Regions from separate parts of the Homo sapiens genome. Here region 2 is linked to region 1. The links are contacts of gene promoters, found by promoter capture Hi-C in human tissues and cell types (Jung and others, 2019). All regions are on one chromosome and are shown on one strand. The core of a region is centred on a gene start or on the middle of the fragment in contact, and the rest is flanking DNA. Distances in the headings are between cores, read along the strand shown.

Evidence for each region. Contacts are between HindIII fragments. The study calls those that stand out against the background at their distance.
Region 2: a fragment that was not itself captured here is called in contact with the fragment with the promoter of GRIK5 in region 1 in 1 of the 25 tissues and cell types used here (pancreas).

What each region holds. Positions count from the first base shown.
Region 1 is chr19:42,066,753-42,074,239 of GRCh38, reverse strand. It overlaps GRIK5 (glutamate ionotropic receptor kainate type subunit 5), which reads left to right and starts at 4,034. Exons shown (of 20, transcript NM_002088.5): 1 at 4,034-4,999. It also overlaps a transcript of ZNF574 not described here. The HindIII fragment of the contact is 36,913 bases long and covers 1-7,487 here.
Region 2 is chr19:41,898,028-41,905,495 of GRCh38, reverse strand. ARHGEF1 (Rho guanine nucleotide exchange factor 1) reads right to left here. Exons shown (of 29, transcript NM_004706.4): 14 at 6,909-7,054; 15 at 3,463-3,609; 16 at 3,140-3,222; 17 at 2,838-2,963; 18 at 2,598-2,712; 19 at 2,089-2,189; 20 at 1,712-1,789; 21 at 1,386-1,461; 22 at 1,113-1,280; 23 at 460-547; 24 at 235-321. Among named protein-coding and RNA genes, the nearest start is that of ARHGEF1, 19 kb to the right of the region's middle. RefSeq lists enhancers at 523-1,127, 1,128-1,733, 6,990-7,468. The HindIII fragment of the contact is 9,702 bases long and covers 1-6,314 here.

The DNA of each region.
Region 1 (7,487 bases), core at 2,785-5,284:
CGTGATCCACCTGCCTTGGCTTCCCAAAGTGCTGGGATTACAGGCGTGAGCCACTGCACCTGGCCTATTTTTAAAATTTAATTTAATTTTTTTTTTTTTTGAGATGGAGTCTCACTCTGTCGCCCACCGCCCAGGCTGGAGTACAGTGGCACGATCTCAGCTCACTGCAACCTCCGCCTCCTGGGTTCAAGTGATTCTCCTGCCTAAGCCTCCTGAGTAGCTGGGACTACAGGCAGACACCACCACTCTCGGCTAATTTTTGTATTTTTAGTAGAGACAGGTTTTTGCAATGTTGGCCAGGCTGGTCTCGAACTCTTGACCTCAGGTGATCCACCCCCCCACCCAGCCTCTCAAAGTGTTGGGATTACAGGCGTGAGCCACTGCGCCCAGTCCCTAATTTTTTTTTTTTTTTTTTTTTTTTTTTTGAGACAGTCTAGCTCTGTCACCCAGGCTGGAGTGCAGTGGTGTGATCTCAGCTAACTGCAACCTCTGCCTCCCAGGCTCAAGCAATTTTCAGCCTCCTGAGTAGCTGGGATTACAGGCATACACCGCCATGCCCTGCTAATTTTTCCTAGTTTTTGGTAGAGATGGGTTTTTGCCACATTGGCTGGGCTGGTCTCGAACTCCTGGCCTCAAGTTGATCCATCTACCTTGACCTCCCAAAGTGCTGGGATTACAGGCATGAGCCACCATGCCCGGGTTTTTTTTTTTTTTTTATAGAGATAGGGTCTCACTATGTTGCCCAGGCTGGTCTCAGAACTCCTGGGCTCAAGCTATCCTCCTGTCTTGGCCTCCCAAAATGGTGGGATTACATGTGTGAGCCACTGTGTCTGGCCAGTTGTTATTTTTATTAGTATCTCCGGGAGCCTAATAATAATAACTAACATCTCTTGAGTGTATTATGACGTGCTAGGTATTATGCTCAATGCTTACATGCATTACTCAGTTTAATCCTCTCAACAACCCTATGAGAGAGAAACTGTCATGCTGACTCTACAAAACATCGAGGCCCCAGAGAAGTAACTAGTCGTAGTTCCCATAGTTAGGAAGAGTCAGGATTCCAACCCAGGAGTTGACCTTACAGTCTACATTCTTGGCCCCCAGGCTCACCTGCCTGCCAGGCAGGAAGTTCAAGTGGTTGCATGTTGAAGGGTTGAATGCAAGAAGTGGAGGAAAGAGTTGGTGGAAATTAGTGAGCTAAAGCTAGGCTCGGCCTGCTCTGAAGCAGTCTGGGTTTGCCCTTAGGGCAAAATCACCTGGGGTAGGTGACAGAGAAGTGGAAGCCATGCTCAGTTTTTGACAGGCTGTGTGACCTTGGGCAGATTCTTGCTTCTGCTGAAACCTCCTTTTCCCCACTTGAAAATCTGAGGATCAGGCTGGGTGCGGTGGGTCACACCTGTAATCACAACACTTTGGGAGACCGAGACAGGCCGATCACCCGATGTCAGGAGTTCAAGACCAGCCTGACCAACATGGAGAAACTCCGTCTCTACTAAAAATACAAAATTAGTCAGGCATGGTGGTGCATGCCTGTAATCCCAGCTACGCGGGAGGCTGAGGCAGGAGAATCACTTGAACCCCGGAGGCGGAGGTTGCAGTGAGCCAAGATGGCGCCATTGCACTCCAACCTAGGCAACAAGAGCGAAACTCCATCTAAAGAAAAAAAAAAAAGAAAGAAAGAAAAAATAAAAGAAAAGAAAACCTGGCCGGGTGCAGTGGCTTGCGCCTGTAATCCCAGCACTTTGGGAGGCCGAGGCAGGCAGATCACGAAGTCAGGAGATCGAGACCATCCTGGCTAACATGGTGAAACCCCGTCTCTACTAAAAATACAAAAAAAGTTAGCCGGGTGTGGTGGTGGGCGCCTGTAGTACCAGCTACTCAGGAGGCTGAGGCAGGAGAATGGTGTGAACCCAGGAGGCAGAGCTTGCAGTGAGCCGAGATCATGCCACTGCACTCCAGTCTGGACAACAGAGCGAGACTCCATCTCAAAAAAAAAAAAAAAAGAAAAGGAAAAAAAAAGAAAATTTGAGGATCCAGGTAACTTCTCAGGCCTTTTGCTTGGACTTCTCAACTTGATTTGGGTGGTGCAGGTCTCTTTTCTCCAGATCATATAGGAATAAGCTGAGGATAAGCTGAGGTCTTTCTGGAGGTGGTAGTGCAGGACTGGCTGGGATTTCCGGGACAGGTTGAATTTAGAGGGGATGGTGGTTGGTTTTTGTTTTTTGTTTTTTTTTTGGAGATGGAGTCTCGCTTTGTCTCCCATGCTGGAGTGCAGTGGCATGATCATGGCTCACAGCAACCTCTGCCTCCTAGGTTCAAGCAATTCTTGTGCCTCAGCCTCCCAAGTAGCTGGGACTAAAGGAGTGTGCCACCGGGCCTGGCTAATTTTTGTATTTTTAGTAGTGACGGGGTTTTGCCATGTTGGCCAGGCTGGTCTTGAACTCCCAACCTCAGGTGGTCCACCTGCCCCGGCCTTCCAAAGTGCTGGGGTTACAGGAATGAGCCACCGCCCTGGTCGAAAGGATGGTGTTCTGTGTTGAGGTCCTTCATAAGCAAAGTCCCAGAGGCAGGTGTGAATCTGGGCTTTTAGGCCTGACTGGAGTTAAGTGTGGATGTTTGAGGGGGCGGTGTAGATGTTGACCAAGTGGGGTAAGGAGGTGTGTGCAAAGTTGGTGGTCCTTCAGCGTCAGATATATGTGTCAGATGTGTGTCCAGGATGCCCCACATGCCAGCTTGCAGAGGGCTTCCTGTGCTGGGCTGGCATGTGGTCCAGGAGTTGCCATGTGCCAGCTGTGTGTTCGAGGCATGCGGTCACATATGCTGTGGGCCGCACGTGAGTGTGTCAGTGTCTCCTCCCCATCACGAGCATCGGGGGTGGTGGTGAGTCACGGGCTCAGCCTTCGGCGCCAACTGTCATGTTTCTTCCCCCCAAATTTCACCCCCCACCCAGCCATGCACCACCCACCCCCACTCCAAGATCTGTGTCGCTTCTCTCTTCCATCCCCCTGTCCTGCTCAGCTCCTTCTGAGAGGCTGCAGGGTGTTCCCTGGGAAGGAGTCTCCCACTTCTGGCTCTGCCCTCCAGCTTCCTCTCCTTGTCCCATCCACCTTTCCCACTGCCTCTCTGCTCCTGTGACTAGAGAATGAGGGCCCCTTCTCTCCACCCACTCATCTCTGTGGGTCCCAAGGATTTCTCTGTGCACTATAGGGAATTCTCATACTCACCACCCATCCCCTCACCTCTATAGGAGCTATTTATATTGGGGGAGGCTTGCCCCGCATCTCCAGGCTGGCAGCTCCTGCCTCAGTGGCTCTCTTGTGTCTATGAGCCACATCCTTGTCTTTTTGGTACCCTGGTGTCTGTAGGCCTCCCTTGTTTCTGTGACCTTCTTCGGCTCTCCTTGGCTCTCTCCCTGCCCTGTGGACCGCTCCCCATATCTGAGGAGTGCTTTCTGTTTCCAGGGGCCTCTCTCTTGTGTCTCTGGCTTCTCCCGTTTTCCTTCGCGGGAGGTCTCTATGTCCACATTACTGCCCCTTGTCTCCGAGGTCCTTTTGCTTGTCTCTGTAGGCTGCTCCCTTGTCTCCATGGGCCTTTCTTTCTTATCCCTGGGCTTTTCCTGTCCTTGTCCTTGTGGGGTTTGTGGGCCTCAGCCCACTTCTCTGGACAGTCTTGACGGCTGTCTCTCTTCTCTTCATTTCTCTTCATCTCTGTAGCCCTCTCCCCTCATCTCAGTGGCCTTCTCCCTGGGTCTTCTTGCCTCTCATCTCTGTGGGCTCCTGTGCCCAGGGCTGCCTGGGCAGGGCGGTGGCATGGTGTGGTAGAGGGGGTGGCTCGGGGGTGGGCCTTCCATCCAATGCAGCTCCTTCTTCTCATCAGCATTCTCCTCGCGGGGGGCCCCCAGCCCCAACCAATACAGGCTCCCCCTCCCCCGACTCACCTCCCTACTCTCTCTTTGCCTGCCTCCCTCCCTTCCTCCTGCCCGCCCTCCTCCCTGCCTCCCTCCCTCCCTCTTCTCTCTCTCCTGAACCACCCCACTGCGCTCCAGGACCCAGCGCAGGCGGCAGGCGGGCAGGCAGGCGGCGGCCTCGGAGGGGAGACTGAGCGGTGGCGGCAGCCAGCGGCAGGGAGGCAGGCCCAGCCGGGGACTGGAGCCGGGGACTGGAGCCGGCTCCTCACAGGGGACCAGGAGTGTGTCGCCAGGCCCTCCCACTGAGGCCCAGCACCGGGAGCCCCTGGGACACCCCACCCTCCTCCGCCTTTCTCTTCCACCTGCTCCTCTCCATCCTCCTCTCCCTCCTCCCTATCTCTCCACCTCATTTGCCCCCTTCTTGGCCTCTCCGGGTCTCCCAGCTCTCCATCCTCCCCAGCTCTCCACTCCCGGGCTCTCCCCGCCCCCAGCATGCTTTTCCCGTGGGGGCTGAGGGCTTGAGGACTCCGGGCCCTTGCCTCAACCAGGGCAGGGCCCAGGCTCCAGGGGGGAGGGGGAAAGGGGGCGGCCCCCTCCCCCAGCAGGCCCTCCCCTCCCCCACTTCTCCTGATGGCCGGCTTCCTTTTCTCCACCCAGTCCTCGCCCCCTGTGGCCCCCCCAGGCCGGCCCGGCTAGGGGAGGGGGCGGGGGCCCTTTCCTGGGCCAGCTTCCCCCTCCCCCGGCTTTGCCTGTGCCCCCCCCTTCCGTTTTCACCTTCCTCTCCTCCTTTCCTCCCTCCTTCCCCTCCATTTGCTCCTTCCCCCTCTCCTCTCTCCCCTTCTCTCCTCCATTTTCTCCTTTCCCCTTCCTCCCCTCCCCGGCCCGCCCTCTCCTCTTCCACCTGTCCTTCCTCCCTGCTCCTGTGGAGCCACCGTTTTGGATTAGTTGGGAGCCACCACCGGCGGCGGGGGAGGGGGCCCTGTGGACTGCCCTCTCCCCCCGCCCAGCCCCACCACCACCCAGCGCCAGAGCACCTCCCGCTGTCGGTCTTCGGGCCTCGAGGGAGCCCAGCCCTCCGTCCCACCAGGATCCGTGAGTGTCTGCAGGGCAGGGATTGGGCTGGGTTCTGGGTCCTGGAAGGCTGGGCTCTGGTGCCGCCTGGCAGGGGGGCACCACATTCTCCCCGTTCTCCGGACTGGCAAGTACCCTCCCCCACTAGGGGCCTGCTCTGCGCCCTCCATCTCCTCAGCGTCCATTCACCTCGACCTCTTCTCACCTCTTCTTCTGGGTACATAGCTCACTGCCGCCCCTGGCCCTCTAGCTTTCTGGGGTCCTACGGGGCTGATTGCTCTTACTTGGGCTCTCACTTACCCCGGGCCCCTGGCATGTCCGTGCCCCTGCTGTCTCCAAGCCTCCGTCCTGGTCCCAGACTGGCTCTTTCTGTTCCTCTGAGCCTCATCCTCTGCCTGCGGTGGGCCTTGGCCCTGTCCCCACCCCGTCCAGTCTCTATCTCCTGGATATGTCTTTCCGCTTTTGAGCCCCCATTTCCTGTGTCTCTTGGGCCCCTCTCTGACTCTGCCCAACTTCTCTCTTTGCTGTTAGCCCAGGTTGCTCTCGGCATGTCTCTGTTTAGATCCCTCTCTCTGTCAGAACTCCTCCACCCTGGCTTCCCTCTTTCCAAGTCTCCCTCGGCAGGTCTCTTTCCATTTCTCTTTCTATTCTGTGCCTCCGCTCACCTGTCCTCCTCCCTCTCTCTGCCTCTGAGCTTGGAGGCTGTCTTCCCTCTGTCACTTTTCCACCTCTTTCCCCCAGATCCACTCTGGGTGCCCGGCTCCTCAGTCCCTCCCTCCTCAGCTGCTGCCCCACCTCTCCGTGGTCCATGCTGACTTTTCCTGGCTGGTCTGGCTCTTTCCACTCCCATTCTCTCTCCCGACTTCTGTGTTACCTCGCGTGGCCTTTCTGCTCCCATTCCTCTCCATGTCTGGGGGCTTTCAGGCCCCAGGATCTCCTGCTCCCCCACACGGCATTCCTGAGTGTCTTGGGGTGGCTATGCCTCTGTGTGGGTCTGGCCTCTCCTGCAGGTGCTTGCCCTGTCCCTGCCTGTGCCCCTCTAGTGCACTCACTCCATCTCCCCACCTCAGTTTCCCTCCCTGACTCCCCCTTTCTCTCTCCCAGGTGCTTTTCCCCCTTGCCCCTTCCTCTTCTATGGGCCTGTCGTGCAGCTCCGACATACTGTCTCTCTTTCCGACTGGCCCTCTCTCTTTGTAGAGTTTGGCCATTTCTTTCCTTCTCCCAAGTCTTGTACCTGCTGCTGTTTCTTTATCTCCCTTTGCCTTCTCCCTCACCCTGTGTGCCTTCGCTGGCCCTCCTTGCCTCTCACCTTTGCTGATGTCTCTCCTATGCCCACTGTTGCTCAGCTCTCTGCTGGGTTTTGACTTTTATCTGGCTTTGCCCAGTCTCTGGGGCTGAGTCCTGGACCTGCCTGACACCCTACCTGCCCTGTCTCTGTCTCCTTTGCTGTCTCACTTCTAGGCTGTGTCTGTCTCTTGCTCTCTCACTTAGCCTCAGTTCCTACGTCTTGGGCTGTCTTTCTGTGTGTATCTCTGTGTCCACCTGCTGCCCCTCAACCCTGTCTTTCTCTGTCTGCTCCCACCTTTGGCTGCCACCTGTGGGTCCCTGTCCTTCTGTCCCATCTCTCCCTCGGTCTTTCTGTCCTTTGTCCTCTGCTCCCTGATTTGCCCCAGGAGTCCCTGGTGTCTCAGGATGACCCACTCCACTCCTGCCTCTCTCCTAGCTCCGCCCTTCACACTCCTCCCACTCTGAGCGCTCCTCCGGGTCTCCCAGCATCCCTTGTGCCTCCATCCTTGACAAGCCTTCACCTTAATCCACATTATAGTTTGCAGTCCCCAGCCTGTCCAGCATACCCTCCCACCTAGCACTCTCTTCTTCTCAGAGGCCTAGAAGGCAGTGACTTGCTCAAGATCACGCAGTGAGTCAGGGGCAGAGCTGGGACTGATCCCCAGCCTAGGTTTTGCAGGCCACTTGAGATGGTGAGAAGGACTTGTGCCTCTATCCTTCCCTCGAAGTTCTCATTCCACAGTTTCACCAGCTCAAGCTGTCCTTCCATGGGGACTGAGTGGGGTCCGGTGTCCAGGCCCACTTCACAGCATTCTGTGCCCCCCACAGTAACCCTACTCCATGGAAACCCAAGCATCCCTTCCCGTGGGGCACAGCCCTCAGCCAGGGGAAGTGGAGCTGTGCATCTGGCCAAACTCCTTGCCCAGTGGTTGCCCTGCAGAAAGCTGGGGTGCCTAGAGGAATCCCTGACTCCTTAGGGGTGGAGAGTTGTGAAGAGCAAAGATGCACCATCTCCCCCTTTACTTCTTCTCCCCAGTAGGGTGGGGGGCAGTGGTATGGCACCCACTTCTGGCAGGCAGCTCCACTCCCTGCCTTACTCACTCCTCCCTTCCAGCTCTTCCTGCTTGTATCCGAGTCGGTTCCTATCTTTTCTCCATCCTCTGTCTCCCTCTTCCTGTGTCTCGCCTGTGCCTTGGTTTCCCCACCTCCAGCCTGCCCCTCT
Region 2 (7,468 bases), core at 214-2,713, 170 kb after region 1:
TGCATACACACACACCATACACGCACACACATGCACACGCACACATGCATGCATACACACACTATATATGCACGCACAGTCACATACTTGCGTACAGACACACATGTATGCACACACATGCATTCACACATGTGCATGCTCACACAGAGACGGTTCTGGAGTTGTGGAGGGAAGCCTGCCCCGCCTTCCGGCCCCACTCCCTGAACCTCCAGCTCTCTCCATGGCCCCCCTCACCTGCTCGGGCTGGGCCGGGGCTTAGGGCGAGAGGCAGGGGCAGGGACTTTCAGGGATCCGGCAGTCTCAGTGATGAGAGCACACCAGCTGGGGAGAAAGGCCAAATCCCTGGGCAGTCAGAGCCCCCAGACCCTATGCCAGGGCCTCCCCACAGCCCTCCTGTCCCTGGGAACCCAGAAACCTGGGCGTCCTCCACCCACACTCAGAACTCAGACCCCCCCTCACTTTTTCCGCTCCGACACAGTCTGTGCCACCAGCTCGTATATCTGGGCCTCCTGGTCCCAGGTAAAAAGGACGTAGAAGGCTTTGTGATCTGCAGGGAGAGGGGGAGATGGGGCTCAGAGCCCAGGTCCCCCCAGTGCCTGCCCCTCCCTAAGCACAAGCTGGAGAAGTCACCCACAGTGGTGGCGCTCTCAGGGCTCCCATGGCTCAACTCACCACTCACTGTCTGCTAATATCCAGGGCCCGATGTGTCCTCCTGAGCCCCACCTCTCACACCTCCTTATGGAATCGGGCATGTACCCTGGCTTACCTAACGAAACCCCTCCAGCCACTCCCACCCTCCAGCCGCTTCCAGTGTTTGTGGCCCTGGTGCAACTTCCTAGTAGTATGTTTACAAATCCCTCCTCACTGGACTCCTGGCCTTTCTTCTCCTTGTTTACACAAGACACGCCTCTGTGCAAACACCTGCAGCAGTTCCTACCTCACTTATAAACCCTCTAGGCCTGGCCCCGCCCTGCCCACCTCCACCTACTTCTCAACCTCTTTGCTAGAATGCTGGCTCCCTGGCTCTCTAGAGGGTTCTGCTCCCCACTCCACAGGCAGCTCTGCCCAAAAAAGACACCCTCTGCCCTGGGCCATGCAGTGGCTGCACTCACCGGTGGCCACCTCGCGGGTCATGGCGGAGGTGAGCCGCAGCACGGGCCGCAGCATGGTCTTGCCATCGGGCGTGGGCGTCAGTGTCCGGCTATGGGACTTGAGCAGCAGCCGCTCGTCCTGGCGCTGGAGCAGCAGCAGCAGGTCGTCCAGCAGCAGCACATGCACCTCTACGGGGCGAGCAGTGCTCACACGGCGTGCCCCCGCGCGACCCCCTCCCCGCCCTTGGCTCACTGCCCCAACACCCTGCACTAGGCAGCTGCTCTGGCACTCACCCACTGCCTTGTCCTTAGTCACCCGCCACGTCAGTGGGCCCTCGTGGACCAATTTCTTCTTGGTGATGTCCAGGTTCTGGGGCAGGAGGGGGTGATGGTTTGTGCAGGTTGGCAGGGGGTGATTGGGGTTGGTGGGGAGGGGAAGGGCAGGGCAGTGGCCGGGGATGACCACAGGCTGGGGATCATGGGATTGGCATGAGGTGGGGGACAGAGCTCTCGCTTCCTGGGTGTATTATGGGATGGGCAGGACAGGCTGGGGGCTGTATCACAGAATCCCCTGGGCCAAGGAGTAGGGGGGCGGGGGAGGCAGGAGGGTATGGTCACACCTTGAACTCGCTCAGCATAGGGTCGCTGCTCTGCCGAAGGTGGGACAAGTCCAGGCGCCGCTGATAGTCCTTGAGCCTCTGGGGCAGAGACGGGAGCATTATGGGGACAAGCTAAGTGCTGGGGCTGACCTGCAGTGACCCACATTGGTAAGATGAGAGCCAAGACCAACTTCTGATGCGGGCAAGCTGAGGGTTGGGCCTGACCTCCAATGACCCTGAGAGGGAGATGCTGAGGGCCAAGCCAACCCCTGGACACAGTGACCCTTGAGGGAGACAAGCCAAGGGGTGGGGTGTGACTTCTGGACAGGCTGAGGTAGGGTCCACCCCCTGCTCTCACACCATCCACTGTCCCGGGTGTGGGGCCAGCCCAGGCTCACCAGCAGGTCCTCCATGTCACGCACGGCTTGGTTGACGTGGTGTAGAATTTCCCGGCAGCACTCGGCTGCCAGCTCCACTTTCTCCCGTTCTGTGGGCTCTTCTGCAGGCAAGGGAGAGAGCAGCTCTGGTGAACCCCTGCCCTGGAGGCTCCAGATTGGGCAGCCAAGGTTAGACAAAGGACAGCTGGCCGGGCATGGTGGCTCACGCCTGTAATCCAAGCACTTTGGGAGGCTGAGGCGGGAGGATAGCTTGAGACCAGGAGTTCAAAGCCAGCCTGGGCAACATGGCGAGACCCCGTCTCTAAAAAAAAAAACTAAAAAAATTAGCTGGGCATGGTGGTGTGCCCTTGGGGTCCCAGCTACTTGGGGAGCTGAGGTGGGAGGATGGTAGATCCTGGGAGGTTGAGGCTGCAGTGAGCTGTGATGGTATCACTGATGAAAATGAGTGAGAAAAAAAATGTAAAAAAAAAAGAGGAGAGCCGAGGCCCAGAGATCCAGGCCCGCGGTACCTGTGTTCTGCCCGATGCTCTGCAGGAGCAGGGGGTACTTGGTCAGCCGCTGCATCTCCGTGGGGATCATGTCCTTCAGCTGCAGGCGGCGGCACCGCGGGCGGCTCTCAGCTTCCTGCGGGAAACATGCTGGTGTTGCGATGGCCCAGGCTTTGGGCTCACCCCAGGGCGCAGGCACCTAGGAGTCTGGGTCTCCAGGCCCCTCCTCCCTGGGAAGCTGGAGTCCAGACCCCACCTCACCTGCACGAAGGCACAGAACCGAGGGTCCTTGCGTTGCTTGGCTTTGAGCTGCTCTAAGGCAAATGACTGGCGGCTGCAGAAGCGGGAGGAGATTTTCTGGAACCAGGAGCCCTCAGCACCATCAAACTACAGCGAGATTCAGGCCAGGCAGGTGTCTCAGTGGGGATGGGCAAGAACAGGGACTAAAGTACGACAGGCTGGAAGCCCAGACCCTGGGACTGGAGTAGGGTGGGCTCAGGACCCGTCCCGGGCCTGAATTCCATGTGTCTAGCTGGGAGGAGCGGGAGGGCTGGGCATCTCACCCGGGCCAGCAGCACGTCTCCGATCTCCTCGATGAGGTAGCCACTCTCCTGCCTCCGCTTCATCAGGCGATCGAGGAACAGGGCTGTGGGGGCAGGAGGAAAGGGATGCTCCACCAGGGTCTGGAAGATGCTGTGCGGGGCCTGCTGCGGTGTGGTGGGGGTAGGGCTGCAGGTGTGTCTGTGTCTGATCCTCGGGACCGGATGGCGTATCTGCCCCCACCCCATGTGAACCCTGGGGTTCCCGAGCAGGTTGAACCCAGGGCTAGAGCAGAGCTGCCCGTGGGGCAGTGGGGTACACAGAGGGACCCTGGCTCTGCACTCACAATGCACCTCGATGAGCTCGTCCAGGCTGGGGAAGATGTTCTGCAGCTCCTCCAAGGGGAAGAACAGGCATTCTGCCATGGGCTGGAAGAAGAGGTCGTGCAGCACCCGCAGCATGCGCACGTGGGCCGCCTCTGTCACCAGCAGCTCTGCAGGGCCACCAAAGCAGGAAGCATGTTGGGGAGGGTGCAGACTAGGGGGCATGACCTCATGGGCAGGCTAGAGGAATGAGGCAGAGCAGGGAGGAAAGCTTCCTAGAAGTTGGTGGGAAAAAACTCTCTCTGGCTAGCCATGGTGGTTCACACTTGTAATCCCAGCACTTTGGGAGGCCAAGGCAAGAGGATTGCTTGAACCCAGGAGTCCAAGATCAGCCTGGGCAACATGGTGAAACCCTGTTTCTACCAAAAATTTAAAAAAGAAAAAAAATTAGCCCAGGCATGTTGGTGTGTGCCTGTAGTCCCAGCTACTTGGGAGGCTCAAGTGGGAGGATCCCTTGAGCCCAGGAGGTTGAGGCTGCAGTGAGCTATGATGGCATTACTGCACCCCAGCTCAAGCAACAGAGCGAGACCTTGTCTCAAAACAAAATGGCTGGGCACAGTGGCTCATGCCTATAATCCCAGCATTTTGGGAGGCTGAGGCAGGTGGATCACAAGGTCAGGAGTTCAAGACCAGCCTGGCCAACATGGTGAAACCCCATCTCTACTAAAAAAATACAAAAATTAGCCAGGTGTGGGGGCGGACTCTTGTAGTCCCAGCTACTCGGGAGGCTGAGGCAGGAGAATCTCTTGAACCCGGGAGACAGAGGTTGCAGTGAGCTGAGATCACACCACTGCACTCCAGCCTGGTGACAGAACGAGACTCCGTCTCAAAAAAACAAAACAAAACAAACAAATAAAAAAAAAAACTCTCCGGGTGGAGTCATTTGCCCTCTTAAATAGCCACTGAGGGGCCGGGTGCAGTGGCTCATGCCTGTAATCCCAGCAATTTGGGAGGCTTAGGCGGGCAGATCACGAGGTCAAGAGATCAAGACCATCCTGGCCAACATGGTGAAACCCCATCTCTACTAAAAATACAAAAATTAGCCAGGAGTGGTGGTGGGCACCTGTAGTTCCAGCTACTTGGGAGGCTGAGGCAGGACAATCGCTTGAACCTGGGAGGTGGAGGTTGCAGTGAGCGGAGATCACGCCACTGCACTCTAGCCTAGGCGACAGAGCGAGATCGTCTCAAAAAAAAAAAAAAAAAAAAAAAACCAGTGAGGATTCCTCAACCCACTGCCTTTCCCTTTTCGCTGTGGCAGCTGGCCAGAGTGACCAATGGTCCTCATTTGCCTGCCTGGGCTTTCAGTGATAAAACTGTGAATATCCTGAGCAAATGGGGACAAGCTAGTCATCCCACCTGCCAGCAAGCTTGCAGCTGTGTTTAGTGTCTAACCATCAAGCCACATTATACAGTGGTTGACAGCCTCAGATCCAGGGACCCCCACATCCCCGGAGGGCATATGTGTGAGTTTCAGGGGCCCTAGAAGTCCCCTGAGACTAAAAGCACGATTTTGTACATTATGCATATTCTTTCTGGGGAAAGAAATTGCTATCCTGTCCAACGTGATAGTCACCAGCCGTGTACAACTCTTTACATTTTCGTTAATTGCAATGAAATTTTAAGTCAGTGCTCAGTTGTATTTAGTGCTTTTTTTTTGAGACACAGTCTTGCTCTGTCACCTAGATTGAAGTGTGGTGGAGTGATCTGGGTTCATTGCAACCTCCATCTCCTGCTTCCTGGGTTCAAGCAATTCTCCTGGCTTACTCTCTCGAGTATCTGGGATTACAGGCATGCGCCACTATGCTTGGCTAATTTTTGTATGTTTAGTAGAGATGGGGTTTCACCATGTTGGCCAGGCTAGTCTCGAACTCCTGACCTCAAGTGATCTGCCCACCTCGGCTTCCCAAAGTGCTGGGATCACAGGCATGAGCCACTGTGCCTGGCCTAGTGCATTTCAAGTGCTCACCAGCCATAGGTGGCCGATGGTCCCCATGGTGAGCAGTACAAATAAAGCACATTTCCATCTTCCAGAAAGTCCTAATGGGTAGCACATGGCTCATGTTTTTTTTTTTTTTTATCATGTCCTTAGAAGGATCTGTGACCCAAAAAGTACTCAACTACTCCCCTAAAATTTTTGAATAAGTATCTTTTTCACTATGAAGTAATCTGTAAATAAGCTTTCAGTCAAGTCCCAAACCTTTCTCTTGGGCTAGGCACAGTGGCTCACGCCTGTAATCCCAGCACTTTGGGAGGCTGAGGCGGGCGTTCGAGACCAGCCTGACCAACATGGAGAAACCCCGTCTCTACTAAAAATACAAAATTAGCCGGGCGTGGTGGCACATGCCTGTAATCCCAGCTACTCAGGAGGCTGAGGCAGGAGAATCACTTGAACCTGGGAGGCGTAGGTTGTGGTGAGCCGAGATTGTGCCATTGCACTCCAGCCTGGGCAACAAGAGCAAAACTCTGTCTTAAAAAAAAAAAAAAAAAAAAAGCTTTCTCTTTTTGCCACCAGCCTCCCTAGCCACCACACAATTAGCAAAGGAAAAAAGGAAAAAGACAAAAATGATACACTCATCATCTCTCCACGCAGAAGCAAGCACTGCTAATATACTGATCATTCTCCCAAACTTTCCCCTGTGGGGATCTTTTCTCCCCTAAGCAATTAAGATCAAACTAGTAACAACAATCTCATTAAAATGCTCTTCCTTGACTGGGCCTGGTGGCTCACACTTGTAATCCCAAGACTTTGGGAGGCTGAGGTAGGAGGATCACTTGAGCCCAAGGGTTCGAGACCAGCCTGGCCAACATGGCGAAACCCCATCTCTACAAAGAATACAAAAATTAGCCAGGCATGGTGGTACATGCCTGTTCAGCTACTCGGGAGGCTGAGGTGGGAGGATCAGTTGAGCCTGGGAGGGTAAGGCTGCAGTGAGCCGTGATTGTGCCACTGCACTCCAGCCTGAGAGACCAACTGAGACTCTGCCTCAAATAAAAATTTAAAAAAATAAATAAAATAAAATGCTCTTCCTCTGTGCCCAGCACTATGCTAAACATTTCACACAAATCATCTCATCTTCATGACAATATCTGAGGTAGGAACTATTAATGCCCACATTTCACAAGCAAGGAAATAAAAGCTTGCACCAGAAATGCAGTGTTCTCAACATCAGCACTGTATTGCACTACTAGAAATGTTTGGAAATGTCCCTTCCACAGTGGCATTCACATTCCATCAAAATGCTCTGTGTTGAAACAATCTGAACTTGGAACAAGAGGGAATTTGAAGCTGCCTTCAAGTTCTCCCGATGGTAAATGACACCAAGATGAACATCTCTCTGCGCCTGTCTTTGCCTTTGCCAGAGCTGGACTGTGTCCTTGGCCACAGTGGGGTGATGGGGGCAGTACTCACCGCTGATGACCTCCTGCCGCTTCACCTGGCTCTTGGGCAGGCTGTGCAGGGTGTCTGGGGGGACGAGTTCCCGCCAGCCGGGAGGCTCTTCTGGTTCAAGCTCCAGTCCCGACCGCCCCGGCTCCCCCTCATCTCCAGGCTCGGGGCTGTGGACAGAGGCCTTGTTAGGGCCCCAGCTTGGGCCATCCCAAGAAGCAGCCTTCAGCCTCTTAGAGCGTTCAACCCCGGTCAGTGGCCTTGGCATTCGATGCCCGCAGGGTGGCCCGTGCAGCAGACCAGGTCTCTAGATCGGACCACACTAGAGTTCCCAGATCTCTAGAAGCATTCTACCCCCTCCTCCTCCAAGGTCTGTGACCACAGTTGGCCTCAATGACCTCGGTCTCCAACGCCCATTCCTCTGTGACTCTGACAACAATCCCTCCCTGATTCTCCAGGCTGCCTTAGTGGATGGGGGAAGGGAGAGGGTTGACATACGTGGCTCGTCGGGCAGGGCCAAGCACTGCCGTGGCGGAACTGGGGTCCATGTCCACGTCGCTCCGGGAGCGGCCCCCACCCCGGCC